Regions from separate parts of the Homo sapiens genome. Here region 2 is linked to region 1. Evidence: promoter capture Hi-C in 16 types of primary human blood cells and fetal thymus (Javierre and others, 2016). All regions are on one chromosome and are shown on one strand. Each heading gives the region's core, a stretch centred on a gene start or on the middle of the fragment in contact. The rest is flanking DNA. Distances are from core to core; before and after follow the strand shown. Region 1 holds the start of FGF2 (fibroblast growth factor 2). Region 2 overlaps LOC105377407 (a long non-coding RNA gene).

The links. Contacts are between HindIII fragments. The CHiCAGO score rates a contact against its expected background, and 5 or more counts as called.
Region 2: a contact is called between a fragment that was not itself captured here and the fragment with the promoter of FGF2 in region 1, in 1 of 17 cell types (M2 macrophages). The highest score is 5.4, in M2 macrophages.

What each region holds. Positions count from the first base shown.
Region 1 is chr4:122,822,896-122,829,870 of GRCh38, forward strand. It overlaps FGF2 (fibroblast growth factor 2), which reads left to right and starts at 3,936. Exons shown (of 3, transcript NM_001361665.2): 1 at 3,936-4,457. The coding sequence starts at 4,280. RefSeq lists promoters at 2,795-3,977, 3,146-4,113, cis regulatory regions at 3,170-3,240, 3,241-3,279, silencers at 3,779-4,258, 4,599-4,893 and enhancers at 4,479-4,558, 4,841-5,366, 5,239-5,378, 5,367-5,892, 5,419-5,468. The HindIII fragment of the contact is 8,047 bases long and covers 2,796-6,975 here.
Region 2 is chr4:124,162,525-124,169,499 of GRCh38, forward strand. The region is part of intron 2 of LOC105377407 (a long non-coding RNA gene); the gene reads right to left. Among named protein-coding and RNA genes, the nearest start is that of LINC02516, 390 kb to the right of the region's middle. The HindIII fragment of the contact is 1,262 bases long and covers 2,309-3,570 here.

The sequences.
Region 1 (6,975 bases), core at 2,686-5,185:
TGATCAAGGATATAATGAACATCCAGGTTAATAAATCTTGTGTACATCTATAATCGTTTCTTGAGAATAAATTTCTTACATCAAAACTGTTGCCTCAAATGGTTATTTAAATTTCAAAAATTGGGCCAGTCATGGTGACACATGCCTGTAATCCCAGCACTTTGGCATGCTGAGACTGGCAGATCGCATGACCCCAGGAGTTTGAGACCAACCTGGGCAACATGGTGAAACCTGTCTCTATAAAATATACAAAAGATTAGCCAGGCATGGTGGCATGCGCCTGTAGTCCCAGCAAACCTGGGAGGCTGAGGTAGGAGGACCACCTGAGCCCAGGAGGTCGAGGTTACAGTGACCCACGATTCTGCCAATGCACACCAGCTTGGGTTGACAGAGCGAGACCCTGTCTCAAAAAAGAAAAAAAATCAAAAATTAAAACTGTGATGTACCTTTTAAAATAGTTTTCCCAAAATGCTGTATAATTTAGCCTCCCTCTGACTGTCGATAAGGTCTTTGGTTCACCTCATCCTTAATAGCACTGGATGATATCTTTTTCCTCCCGACTTTATGGGAGAAAAAAACTCATTTTCATTTTGACATCTATTATTTTTCTTTCTCTTTTTTTGAAGATACAATTCATGTATCATGAAATTCACCATTTTAAAGTGTTCAATTCAATGGTTTTCAGTATATTCACAAAGTTGTGTAATAACCATCACCACTATCTAATTCCGGAACTCTTTTATAGGTCCCAAAGGAAATCCCATACTCATTAGCAGTCACTGCCCATTTCCCTCTCCTTCAGCCCTGGCAACCACTAAGCTGCTTTCTGTTTCTATGGATTTGCCTACCCTAGGCATCTCATATAAATGGAATCATATAACACCTGGCCTTTTCTGTCTTTTTCCACTGAGCATAATGTTTCCAAGCTTCATCCATGTTGTAGCACGTATCAGTAATTCATTTCTGTTTATTGCCAAATAACATTTCATTGTATGGATATACCACAATTGATTTATCCATTCATCATTTGATGGACATCTGGCTTGTTTCCACATTTTGGTTATTATGAATAAAGCTGCTATGAACATTTATGTACATGTTTTCATGTGAATATATGTTTCCAATTCTCTTGGCTACATACCTAGGAGTGGAATTGCTGGGTTGTCTGGTGACTCTGTTTAATTTTAGAGTTAACTGTCAGACTGTTTTTATATTGACTACATCATTTTACCTTTCCACCAGCAATGTTTGAGGGTTCCACTTTTACCACATCTTCAACACTTATTATTTTTTGTTGTTGTTATTTCTTAATTATAGCTATCCTAGTGGGTGTAAAGTAGTATCTCATTGTTGTTTTGATTTGTATTTCTCTAATGTCTAATGATGTTGAGCCCCTTGTCATGTGTTTATTGGCTATTTGTATATTTTCTTTGGAGAAGTGTCTGTTCAAATCTTTTCCCATTTGAAAATTAGATTATTTGTTTGAATTGTAGGGAATACAAGTTATTTTACTGCGTGTAGCTGCTCCCCAGGTTTCTGGATGCCATTGTTAAAAAATATCATGACTTAGATTTTATCCCCGTGCTCCTGGAATCCTCAGGTTTCTGTGACACAGAGTTCAAGTGAGAGTTCAATCATTCTAGGGACTACTCAGCACCACAGTAGCACCTACAGAGATCATCTGGAGGGAGTGATTTTGTCTCAACAGACGGATCTTCAATGAAGATGAAACAAATCCATTTTGGAGAGAGATGTTAGAGAACTGATGGCGTTCAGGACATGCTACCCAAAAATAATGGTACCTTGGCACTTAAGAAAAGAGCAGAAGCAAGAGGGTTACTTTCACTTTCCCCAGATCTTCTCTTCTGAGGCAGACCATAAGACCTTCATTCCAGAGGTGCCTTCCCTATACCTGGAGGAAACAGACATCCTTATCTCTGAAGACACACGGACAGGGAAAAGAATCTGAGCAAATAGGCCTTGCTAAGTAAGTCCCCCCAGTTTATTACCATTAGATCACAGATTTGTCCAATCATACTTCTCCATGACTTCCACTTCTTTATCAATCCTAGCCTTAAAAATACACAGGCTTCCCTCTTAACTTTGGGTCTTAATTTCTGAAGTCTCCTGTTTTGTGTAAAACTCACATAAATAAGTTAGTATGTTTTTCTCTTGTTAATGTGTCTTTTGTTACAGGGGCTTCAGCCATAAACCTAGTAATGAATGGGGAAATTTTTTTTTTCCTCCTCTATAGAACATATACCAACTGCAAGAAGAAAGAAGAATATGCCTGGTTTTGGGCCTGGCGCGGTGGCTCACGCCTGTAATCCCAGTACTATGGGAGGCTGAGGCGGGCAGATCACCTGAGGTTGGGAGTTCGAGACCAGCCTGACCAACATGGAGAAACCCCGTCTCTACTAAAAATACAAAAAATTAGCCCTGCGTGGTGGTGGCGCATGCCTGTAATCCCAGCTATTCGGTAGGCTGAAGTAGGAGAATCGCTTGAACCCAGGAGGTGGAGGTTGCGGTGAGCCGAGATCGTGCCATTGATCTCCAGCCTGGGCAACAAGAGCAAAACTCTGTCTAAAAAAAATAAATAAATAATAAAAATAAAAACAGTATGCCTGGTTTTAAAGCTTCAAAGAATTTACTCATTCTCCTGTATGTAACATTCTAGAAATGCATCTGGAGTTAAAGCCTTCTTGGAGACTTAAGAACAAATGCACTTATGCATGGCCTTTTGAAACCTAATGTTTCTACAAGGAGGCACGTCCATACTTGCAACTCCTTCTAGAAGCTTCCCCAAATCTCCTGCCTCCCCACGCTGAGTTATCCGATGTCTGAAATGTCACAGCACTTAGTCTTACTCTTCTATGGCCTACTTTCTACTGCTATTTGTGTTACTCATGCTACCCATCTTATCTCCCTCAGTGTGTGAGACGCTGGCATCAGATTTGGCATCTCCCACACACTCAACATTATGTGTTGCACACAGTAGGTACTCAATACATGCAAGTTTTCTGAATAGATATTTTCCTAGTCATCTGTGGCACCTGCTATATCCTACTGAAAATTACCAAAATGCAATTAACTTCAATTTTACATTTGGGATTTACAGAAAATAACTCTCTCTCCAAGAAATGCATAACAATTTAGCTAGGGCAAATGCCAGGTCCGAGTTAAGACATTAATGCGCTTCGATCGCGATAAGGATTTATCCTTATCCCCATCCTCATCTTTCTGCGTCGTCTAATTCAAGATAGGTCAGTAAAGGAAACCTTTTCGTTTTAGCAACCCAATCTGCTCCCCTTCTCTGGCCTCTTTCTCTCCTTTTGTTGGTAGACGACTTCAGCCTCTGTCCTTTAATTTTAAAGTTTATGCCCCACTTGTACCCCTCGTCTTTTGGTGATTTAGAGATTTTCAAAGCCTGCTCTGACACAGACTCTTCCTTGGATTGCAACTTCTCTACTTTGGGGTGGAAACGGCTTCTCCGTTTTGAAACGCTAGCGGGGAAAAAATGGGGGAGAAAGTTGAGTTTAAACTTTTAAAAGTTGAGTCACGGCTGGTTGCGCAGCAAAAGCCCCGCAGTGTGGAGAAAGCCTAAACGTGGTTTGGGTGGTGCGGGGGTTGGGCGGGGGTGACTTTTGGGGGATAAGGGGCGGTGGAGCCCAGGGAATGCCAAAGCCCTGCCGCGGCCTCCGACGCGCGCCCCCCGCCCCTCGCCTCTCCCCCGCCCCCGACTGAGGCCGGGCTCCCCGCCGGACTGATGTCGCGCGCTTGCGTGTTGTGGCCGAACCGCCGAACTCAGAGGCCGGCCCCAGAAAACCCGAGCGAGTAGGGGGCGGCGCGCAGGAGGGAGGAGAACTGGGGGCGCGGGAGGCTGGTGGGTGTGGGGGGTGGAGATGTAGAAGATGTGACGCCGCGGCCCGGCGGGTGCCAGATTAGCGGACGCGGTGCCCGCGGTTGCAACGGGATCCCGGGCGCTGCAGCTTGGGAGGCGGCTCTCCCCAGGCGGCGTCCGCGGAGACACCCATCCGTGAACCCCAGGTCCCGGGCCGCCGGCTCGCCGCGCACCAGGGGCCGGCGGACAGAAGAGCGGCCGAGCGGCTCGAGGCTGGGGGACCGCGGGCGCGGCCGCGCGCTGCCGGGCGGGAGGCTGGGGGGCCGGGGCCGGGGCCGTGCCCCGGAGCGGGTCGGAGGCCGGGGCCGGGGCCGGGGGACGGCGGCTCCCCGCGCGGCTCCAGCGGCTCGGGGATCCCGGCCGGGCCCCGCAGGGACCATGGCAGCCGGGAGCATCACCACGCTGCCCGCCTTGCCCGAGGATGGCGGCAGCGGCGCCTTCCCGCCCGGCCACTTCAAGGACCCCAAGCGGCTGTACTGCAAAAACGGGGGCTTCTTCCTGCGCATCCACCCCGACGGCCGAGTTGACGGGGTCCGGGAGAAGAGCGACCCTCACAGTGAGTGCCGACCCGCTCTCTCCGCCTCATTTCCATTTCGTGGGTTCTCGCCCGCTCTCTCCCCTCCAGCCTGCACCCTCCTCCCGGATCTTCACTGCGACCCTAGCGCTCCGTGTGGTTTCTGGCCGCGCGGCCCTCGGCGGTTTCGGGTTCACCACTCACCCCCTCCTTTCCGGGCTGCGGCGTAGGCCCGGGTGTCCCCTGGGCTTTGGGGTGTGCCAATTTGCCCTGTAAACCAGTACCCCCGGCCCGGAGCCGCGGCGCGCCGGGGCCTCGCGGACTGGCTGTCTTCCCGCGGACAACCTGTCGCGTCGGGGATGCCCGCGGCCCCGCCATGCAGCTCTGGCCGCTTCTATCTGCTGCGTGCTGTCCCGGGGACAAAGACAGGAAGGACCGCAGCAGAACGAAACGGTCTTTACTGGAAAAACACCTTTCTAGAGTCCTGCCCTTAAATTCCGACTCGGGACGACCCGAGGCATATGGCACACTACTCTCACCCACTCTGTTTTATATTTTTCCGAATTGACGAAAGCTGAAAGAGCAAAAACAAAAACCAACCAGCCAACCAGCAAAAAATCCAGATGTTGTTAATAAAGTGCCATAGCTTTGTTTCAGTAGTGAAAAGAAGTGCAAACACTTTAATCTTCCACCTGCAGTGACTAGCTTTGAGACCTTGAGCCGACGCTTAACCCCAGAGCCGGTTTCCTCATCGCTCACGTGGGGCTAATATATTACTACCTTGCAGCAGGCTTGAGGATGAAATGAGAATTGCAGTTTTGCTTTCTGTAAGAAACAATGTTTGTGGTTCTAGAAAGAACACTGGCCTAAATAAGGAGTGCTTGGACTTTAGGGGATTCCCTAAGTCTGGAGTGGGGGCTGAAGATTTGCATTTCTAACATGTTCCCCGGGGATGCTGATCACATCACACTTTGAGAGCCACTGGTCTAGAGGAAAGAGAAAGAAAGGGGCATAAGATGAGCCGATTTACAACACTGATGGAATTTGAAGTGAGAGAAAGAGGACTAGAATATATTGTAACCTGTCCTCCTGTAAGTGTATGTAAACATGTGTTTTAAAAGCTGTGTGTTATGGCGTTCCTTCCTTTATGGGTTCCAGGTGGAGAATCTGATTCTCTCATTGCCTGAGAAAAGACCCACAGGGGTCCCAGCGCCACTCCCCTGTAGTTCTGCCTTTGTCTTGGGATGCTAATGGGATGTCATGAGGGGAGGTGGAGGGGGGCTGGAAGAGAAGAAAATTCTACAACCAAACGTGAATTGGCAGAAGAATGGGCAATACACTTTCATATGAGCTGAGTCTTTATTGCTTCCAAAATAGCAACCTGCAAGAGAGGCAAGTATTTAATTTTTTTCAGGCTTGCCATAATTTAAAAATTTTATCAATCACTTAATCCCGTAAAACTGAAAAGATGCTTGTAACCTATTAGATGGGTTAGTGCTAGTTCTCTATTCTGGTAACTTGAACTCATCTATTTCAAAAAATTATCTTTGTGATTGAAGTTTGTTCTGCAGTTGTCTGCTACGCCATCTCAGCTGACAAGGGCAAGGTGCTGTGTGTCCCAATTGGTTTTGTTCTTTCTAGTATCACAAATTATTTATTAAAAAGCATGTATTATGACCAGAAGACAGAAGAATTTCCCTTTAAATTAAATTAATATTTGGGGCTTCCCCTAATACTCTTTTTTTTTCAGACTCTATTAGTTGCTGAATCATTTTTTCTTTGAAGATTTTGATACCCGATTCGCCTTAGAATAAAACTATGTAGAGGTTAGCCAGTGGACATAATTTTGAATTGCATACCACATTACCACCGTTGTAAAAACAACCGTTAACTTTTTCTTCCTAACTGTGAGTTGGGTTTTCATTTTTGTAATCTTACTTTAACTCTGTGGTTCTCAAATGGGGACGATTTTGCCTCCCAGGGGACATTTGACAATGCCTGGAGACATTTTTGGTTGCTGTAACCTGGAAGGGTGCTACTGGCATCTGGCAGGTAGAGGCCGGGGATGCTGCTGAACATCCTACAATACACATTATAATACCCTCAACAAAAACATTTTTGACCCCAAATGTCACTAGTACTCAGGTTGAGAACTCTGCTAACTTTATAACTAGCTAAGGACAAGACATTAAAAGGGAAATGTAGAATAACTCATCCAGACTTGTGGAGACTACCAATTTTTTTAAAATTTTTTATTTCTATAGGGTTTTAGGGACCAGGTGGTAGTTGGTTACATGAGTAAGTTCTTTAGTGGTGATTTGTGAAATTTTGTTGCACCCATCACCCAAGCAGTATACACTGAATCCAGTTTGTAGTCCTGTCCCTCCCCAACTTCCCACCCTTTCTTCCCAAGTCCCCAAAGAGACTACTCTTTTTTTAAAGGATACCTGTACCAGGCAATAGACTGACAAGAATACAAATCTAAAAATGACAAATTTCATCTATTTCTATGTAGCCCAACCTGGACATAAATTTAAGTACAGTATATTATTTTCTCACA
Region 2 (6,975 bases), core at 1,690-4,189, 1.3 Mb after region 1:
GCCTTCAGACCATCCCATATGACCCTGCAATATTATAGGCAATATGCAATATTATGTTATTTGAATTAACCAGCTGGGGTTCACATGTTGGCTTAGACTTTTACTGTGTAATCAAACAAGCTACTTAACCCTTCTGATCTTTGTTTTCTTAAACAATGTCAAATTGAAAAAAAACTATTTCCTTCATAGAATTTGGAAGGGATTAAATAAAATAATATTTAAAGTGCTTAGAAGAGTCCTTGACATATAATTAGCATTTAGTAAATCTCTCTCTCTCTCTCTTTCTCTTGCACAAGCACCCATACTAGATTGATATCAGCATTTGACTTTCGGCATGATATTGAGTAGGTATCTCAGTTAGATCACTTTTATAATCCCTTCTGATATTAAAATGATATGACAACACACTCTATCATTTCTGTTTTTATATGATGTTCCCCTTTCTTCTTCATGAGATCAATTTCATTTAAGTCTTTCCAGTTCCCTTGAAATATTTTTATCTGAAGCCATGGAATTTATTCCTCTTTTCGTTTTGTATGTTGTTTTATTTTACATTTTGAAATATATTTTTTAAAAATTTTCATGCAATGTATACTTTTTACTTTAAAGCATTTTCATATAAGTAGACTTGTATTCTAAAATAAATGTTAAGCTTCTTACGTTGTGACCATATGCTGGTCTGCTCTTATACTTTTCATTTTACTAAAAATACTATTTCATTCTGGGCTCACAGATGTCATTCAAAAAATATTCATGAAAATTGATAATTTTGACAAAAAGAAATATTTTTTGTAGACTAGAGATTCTCATACCCCATGGCTCTTAGAAATAAAGACAAAGAAAAATATAATTAGAAGGAAACCATAACCATAACTTTAAATAATTTTTCTTTCTCTTTGAATTCAAAAACAGTAATTAAAAATGTTGAAGATGATTAAGTCATTTGCTTTGTTTGAACTACTCCATTGAAGATTATGTTCAAAAGGCTATTAATACATGTTCATTAAAATTATTTCCCCTGGGTTATGTTGGTAACATAATGTAAAACATACAGGGATTCCTGTCACAACTAATGCGTTAATTAAGAAATAAATGTACTTTTATGACTTATGCCTTTTTGAGTTAATTAGATAGTAAATCATTCCCTAATGAGTGATTCTTAGAGTGTAGTAGCTATCAGATTAAATTAAAATTTCAATTGGCACACTGATTTCAATTTAAATAAGATATCTAATGGGAGCCACCTTCAGTAATCTTTTTGTGATCTTTTATGAATATTTTCCTACATGTGGATGATTCATATAAACTTTAGTGTTAGTGCAAGCTGAAGCGCTTGTCACTTTTTCTTTAAAGTAAACTTAGTAACTCAGGAATGACGAATCAAATACTGTATGTTCTCACTTATAAGAGGGAGCTAAGCTATGGGTACGCAGAGGCGTGCAGAGTAATACAATGGACCATGGGGACTCAGAAGGTTGGGAGGGCGATGAATAAAAAACTACATATTGGGTACAATGTACAGTAGTCAGGTGATATCCGGACTAAAATTTCAAACTTCACCACTATACAATTCATCAATGTAACCAAAAACCACTTGTACTCCAAAAACTTTTGAAAGGAAAAAAAAATTCTGTAAAGTACTTCACTTAGGTGATATGGAAATAATACACGTGTGGCTTGAAATAGATTTTTCAGCACACTGATTTAGTAGGGAAAAGCTATATAGAAAAAAAGCAAATGACTTTGAATTTATCAAGATTTAATTCGGATTTTAAAAATTACGTTTACTCATCTCTAAGCTATTAAAAAGCAGTACGTTACAGGTATTTTTCATGTATATTATTTTTAAAAATATCTTTTAAGATAGACAACAGATTCTTATTACTCTTCCTTAGTTGTAGGATTATTCAGAAGCTCTTGAGTAATTTATTACTTTCATATTTTGTATTTATTTTGTTAATTATTTCTTGTAATAACTCTTTTCTACAATTGTAATTATAGAAGTGTGAGTTTTGCTTAGCAAAGTCACGAAAGCATTATTTCTATTCCTCTTTCTACCATTTTTGTTTTTGAATACAAAATTATAAATTCTAAACCATCATTTTAAATCAATCTCTTTCTTCACCTTTCTTCATTTTAACTTTCAGGCCATGTTTCATATTGAAAGTTGAAATGTTCCTTTGCTTTAAGCAATTTAAGAAGAATAAACTTTCTTTTCTTTTCTTTTTTTTCCTATCATAGTCATTTATTTTTAAAGGCAAGAAGCCAAAAACACATTTAGAAGTCTAATCATCAAACTTACAAATAAAGCTTCATTTGAAAAATGTATGTTTTATTATGTAGTAATAATTCAATTCACCTTCAATATATAAAAATGAACAAAAACCAATACATATTAATATAATATGTTTTAATTTATTTTTATGTTAGCACCAGAGCTTTAATGGAATATGAAAAGCCATCTTGTCTGTAAAAACTTGTGAAATCATTTTCTCTCTGCTTAATTTATAAGTGGCTTAGGAAAACCAATTTCATTGGAGAGTAGTCTTAAGTTTCAAGGTTTTATTGACCTACTGTGTGCTACCTAGTCTGCTAAAATTCAGAGAAACTCTTGTGATTTTACATGGACAGAAATGACACATGTGAAGCAATAAAGATTTTAAAAAGTATTCTGAGAAATTTCAAGAACAAGTCATATTTCAATGTTAAAAAAAAACCAAAATCCTTTTTTATCTTTCAAACCCCAAAGGAATCATCGCCCTCCTGTTGCGACGCATATATGTCTTTGACAATACACAAGAATGTCACTCTCTCCCTCTTCCTTCTCTCTCCCCTACAGTTCTCTTTTGCTACCAATTTTCTACACAATTTGGTAGGGGACTGATGTATGAGGAAGAAACAATAATGCCCTTTGACTTTCTGTTAGGAAAAGACTTCTCACCCCATGCACAAGAAATAGGAAGAATGATCAAAACACAGACTGCCTCTTCATACTAAGACTTCTCTATCTCCCTTTTTCAGACCAAGCCCTATTCAAAAAACACTTTGAAATAAGAATAGCATTTGGCCAAAGAAGTATAGTTCTTATGTCATAAGTGTCCAGTCAACCACAGTGCCACTGAAAAAGGAAAATGGCTACTTTTGCACCCCCCGTGGAGAAATAACCCTGGGAAAGGAACAGCAACTTCTGACTACCCACTCTTCAGTGCTTGGGCAGCACTCCATCATGGTGTTTTCAGAATGTAGACAATCTTCCAAAATATAACAATGCAGACCCTAAACAATTTCCTAGAGAAGTCAGGACCTCAGGCAGGCAGGCAGGCAGACTGGCAGATCTCTCAAAGAAGAATCTCCCTTTGGAAAGGAAAAAAGCCTGCTTTATCTTTACTCACACACCTTTCTCCTTGCATGTGAAACTTGCTGAAGGGGAACGTGATTTTATTTTCAACCATCTATCCATGCCAACTCTCTTATTCAACTTCTTGGTCTCATATCCATATTCAAGCAACCCTCTCTAACAATGATGCTGTCAGCTTGCTCTACATCCTTTCTCAAAGTTATTACAGGTCAAGCTTGAATTCCTCTTTTGAACTTTGTAATTCTCAAACAGTCATCTGGATTGTTTCTGAGCAATAGCTAGAACTTGTTTGATCCATCTTCCTCAGCCTTTATTAATCCAATTCCTAAGTTGTCTATTTTTTCACTTTAGCCCTGTTCATTGAGGATCACTCTTGTTTAAACAGTTTATTTTTCTCCCATTAATATCAATAATAATTCAGCTGGAGGAAAGCAAAAATGATTAGCTACTTTTATACTCAGGCCTTTTGATTCTGTACATAAATGGACCTATAAATAGCCACCTATTTTATAAAATATTATTTTGAGGAAGAATACTATTGGGAGATTGCTTTTGGAAACCATCATTTTCAGTCTTTTCTATTTGTTTCCCAGCACCACAGATACTTGGAGATGGAAACAGGGATTATTTGAAATAGTTTCACTTGAACCTAGAAAGTGCAAATCACTCAAAATCCTGCTCTTGCTGTAGAGTAAGGACAAAAAACTGTTTGAAGGGCTACGAGGGAAGGATAGAGATTCCTGGGCACTAGAGGAGGCATTAAACTTAAGAAAAAGATAAATCATGTCCATCTCCAATAAGAAGTCCTTTGTAGTCCTGAGATGGCTTAAGGGTGCTATCTCTTGGTCAGAGACTTTTCTACTGTAGCTATTTCTCCATGAGCATAGGTCAAGGCAGAGATTTTCATTTCTAATTTCAATTCCACAAACAAAGAACAAACATGACATGCTAACAGCATGTTAAAGTTGAGGCTTAAATATGGCCTGAGAAGGACTCTGTATTTCTATATTTGAATCCTTTTAGATGAACTGCAGCGTAACTTACTAGGTAGACAAGATTGAAAACCTCACTTAGTAGTATGCACCTGTAACAATAGCTCAGTCTTGACCAATCCCAGCAACCGTACTTCAACCACTGATACACTGCTGAGTGTTCAAACTGTATTCAAATAAGGCAAATGCCAACCTGTAACCAATCCAGCTGTTTCTATACCTTACTTCTGATTTCTGTACATCACTTTACTTTTTTGTCTCTAAATTTGTTCTGACCATGAGGTACCCCTGGAGTCTCTCTGAATCTGCTGTGATCCTGGGGGCTTCCCAATTTGTGAATTGTTCATTGCTCAATTAAACTCCTTTAAATGTATTTTAGCTGAAGTTTTTCTTTTAACAAGCATAAATAGTTGTTTGGTTGAGGGGTTTTTGGATAACTGTGAGTTTTTCAATGTGAGTTTTTATGTAAGAAAAAAAGGTAATTTGGGAAGATAGCTGACTAGAAACAGCTCTTGGAGGCTCCCATTGAGAAGAACAAAAACAGAGTGAATCCTGCACTGGCAACTAAGGTATCCAGGTTCTCTCACTGGGACTGACTAGGCAGTTGGAGCGACCCATGGAAAGTGAGGAGAAGCAGGATAGAGTGATGGCCTACCCGGGAGGCACATGGGGCAAGGGGAGCTCCCACCCCCAGCCAAGGGATGTGGTGAGTGATTGTGCTACCTTGGCCAGGAAATCATGCTTAAAACATGGATCTGTGCAACCTGACTTGTGCAGATTTTTAGTGGCTGCTTGGCTGAGACTGCCTAAGACTACTGAGTTCTGGCAGGAGGGGTGGCTGCCATCACTTTGGCTGCCTGTTGCCTAAGATGACTAAGCTCCTGAGGGTAGGGCTGGCAACCATCACTGCAGCTCCAGTCTGCAATTTTCCCCTGCCGATACTGGGAGACTGGGCAGTTTCAACCCAGGAGGAATTCCCCACAGTGCAGCACAGTGGCTGTGGCAGACTGTGACCAGACTATTGCTTTAGGCCTGACCTGGATGCATCCCTCCTCATTGTGCAGGACCTCGCTGTGGAAATTTCAGCAACTCCAGCCAGGGGTTTATGGACAGGGCACTGATCTCCCTGGGATGGAGCCCCTGGGGGGAAAAGTGGCCATGGTCTCTGTGGATTAGCTGACTTAGTCTTTTTCCTTGCTGTCTCTGAGGAATCCGGGCACTCTGGACGAGTGGAACTCCCCCAGCACAGCGCACTCCCTCCTCCAAGGGGAAGCCAGAGTGCTTTGTTAAGTGGGTCTCTGATCCTGTGCCTCTTGACTCAGTAAGATGCCCCAACAGGGGTCACCAGATACCTTATACAGGAGTATTCCCACTGTCATCAGGTTGGTGCACCTCTGGGATGGAGCTCCCAGAGGAAGGAGCAGGCAGCCATCTTTGCTATTCTGCAGCCTCCACTGTGACACCTCCAGGGGTAGAAGGGACCCAGGAGAACAGGGTCTGGAGTGGACCCCCAGCAAACCACAGCAGCCATATGGAAGAGGGGCCTGACTGTTAAAAGAAAAATAAACAGGAAGCTACAACAACAGAATCAACAAAAAAGTCCCCACAAAAATCCCATCCAAAGGTCAGCAGCCTCAAAGATCAAAGCTAGATAAACTCAGGAAGATGAGAAAGAATCAATGAAACAATGCTGAAAACTCAAAAAGCCAGAGTGCCCTTCTCCTCCAAATGATCACAGCACCTCTCCAGCAAGAGCACAGAACTGGGCTGAGGCTGAGATGGATGAACTGACAGAAGTAGGCTTCAGAAGATAGGTAATAACAAACTTCTCTGAACTAAAGGAGCATGTTCAAACCTAAAGCAAAGAAGCTAAGAACCATGATAAAACATTACAGGAGCAGTTAACCAGAATAACAAGTTTAGAGAGGAACATAAATGACCTGATGAAGCTGAAAAACACAACATGAGAACTTCACAATGCAACCACAAGTATCAATAGCCAAATAGACCAAGTGGAGGAAAGAATTTCAGAGATTGAAGACATCTTTCTGAAATGAGACAGGCAACAAGATTAGAGAAAAAAGAATAAAAAGGAAATATGAAACCTCCAAGAACTATGGAATTATATAAAAAGACAAAACCTATGACTGATTGGGGTACCTGAAAGAGATGGGGAAGGAGGAACCTAGTTGGAAAACATACTCCAGGATATCATCCACAAGAACTTCCCCGGCCTAGCAAGATAGGTCAACATTGAAATTCAGGAAATCCAGAGAACCTAGTAAGATACCCCATGAGAAGATGAAACCCAAGACACATAACCATCAGATTCTCCAAGATTGTAATGAAGGAAAAAATATTAAGGGCAGCCAGAGAGAAAGACCAGGTCACCTACAAAGAGAAGACCATCAGAATAACAGTGGACCTCTCAGCAGAAACCCTACAGGCCAGAAGAGATTGAGGGCCAATATTTAACATTATTAATAAAAATAATTCCCAACCCAGAATCTCATATCCAGCTAAACTAAGCTTCAGAAGCGAAGGGGAAATAAAATCCTTTTCAGACAAGAAAATGCTGAGGGAAATCATTATCACCAGGCCTGCCTTGCAAGAGCTCCTGAAGAA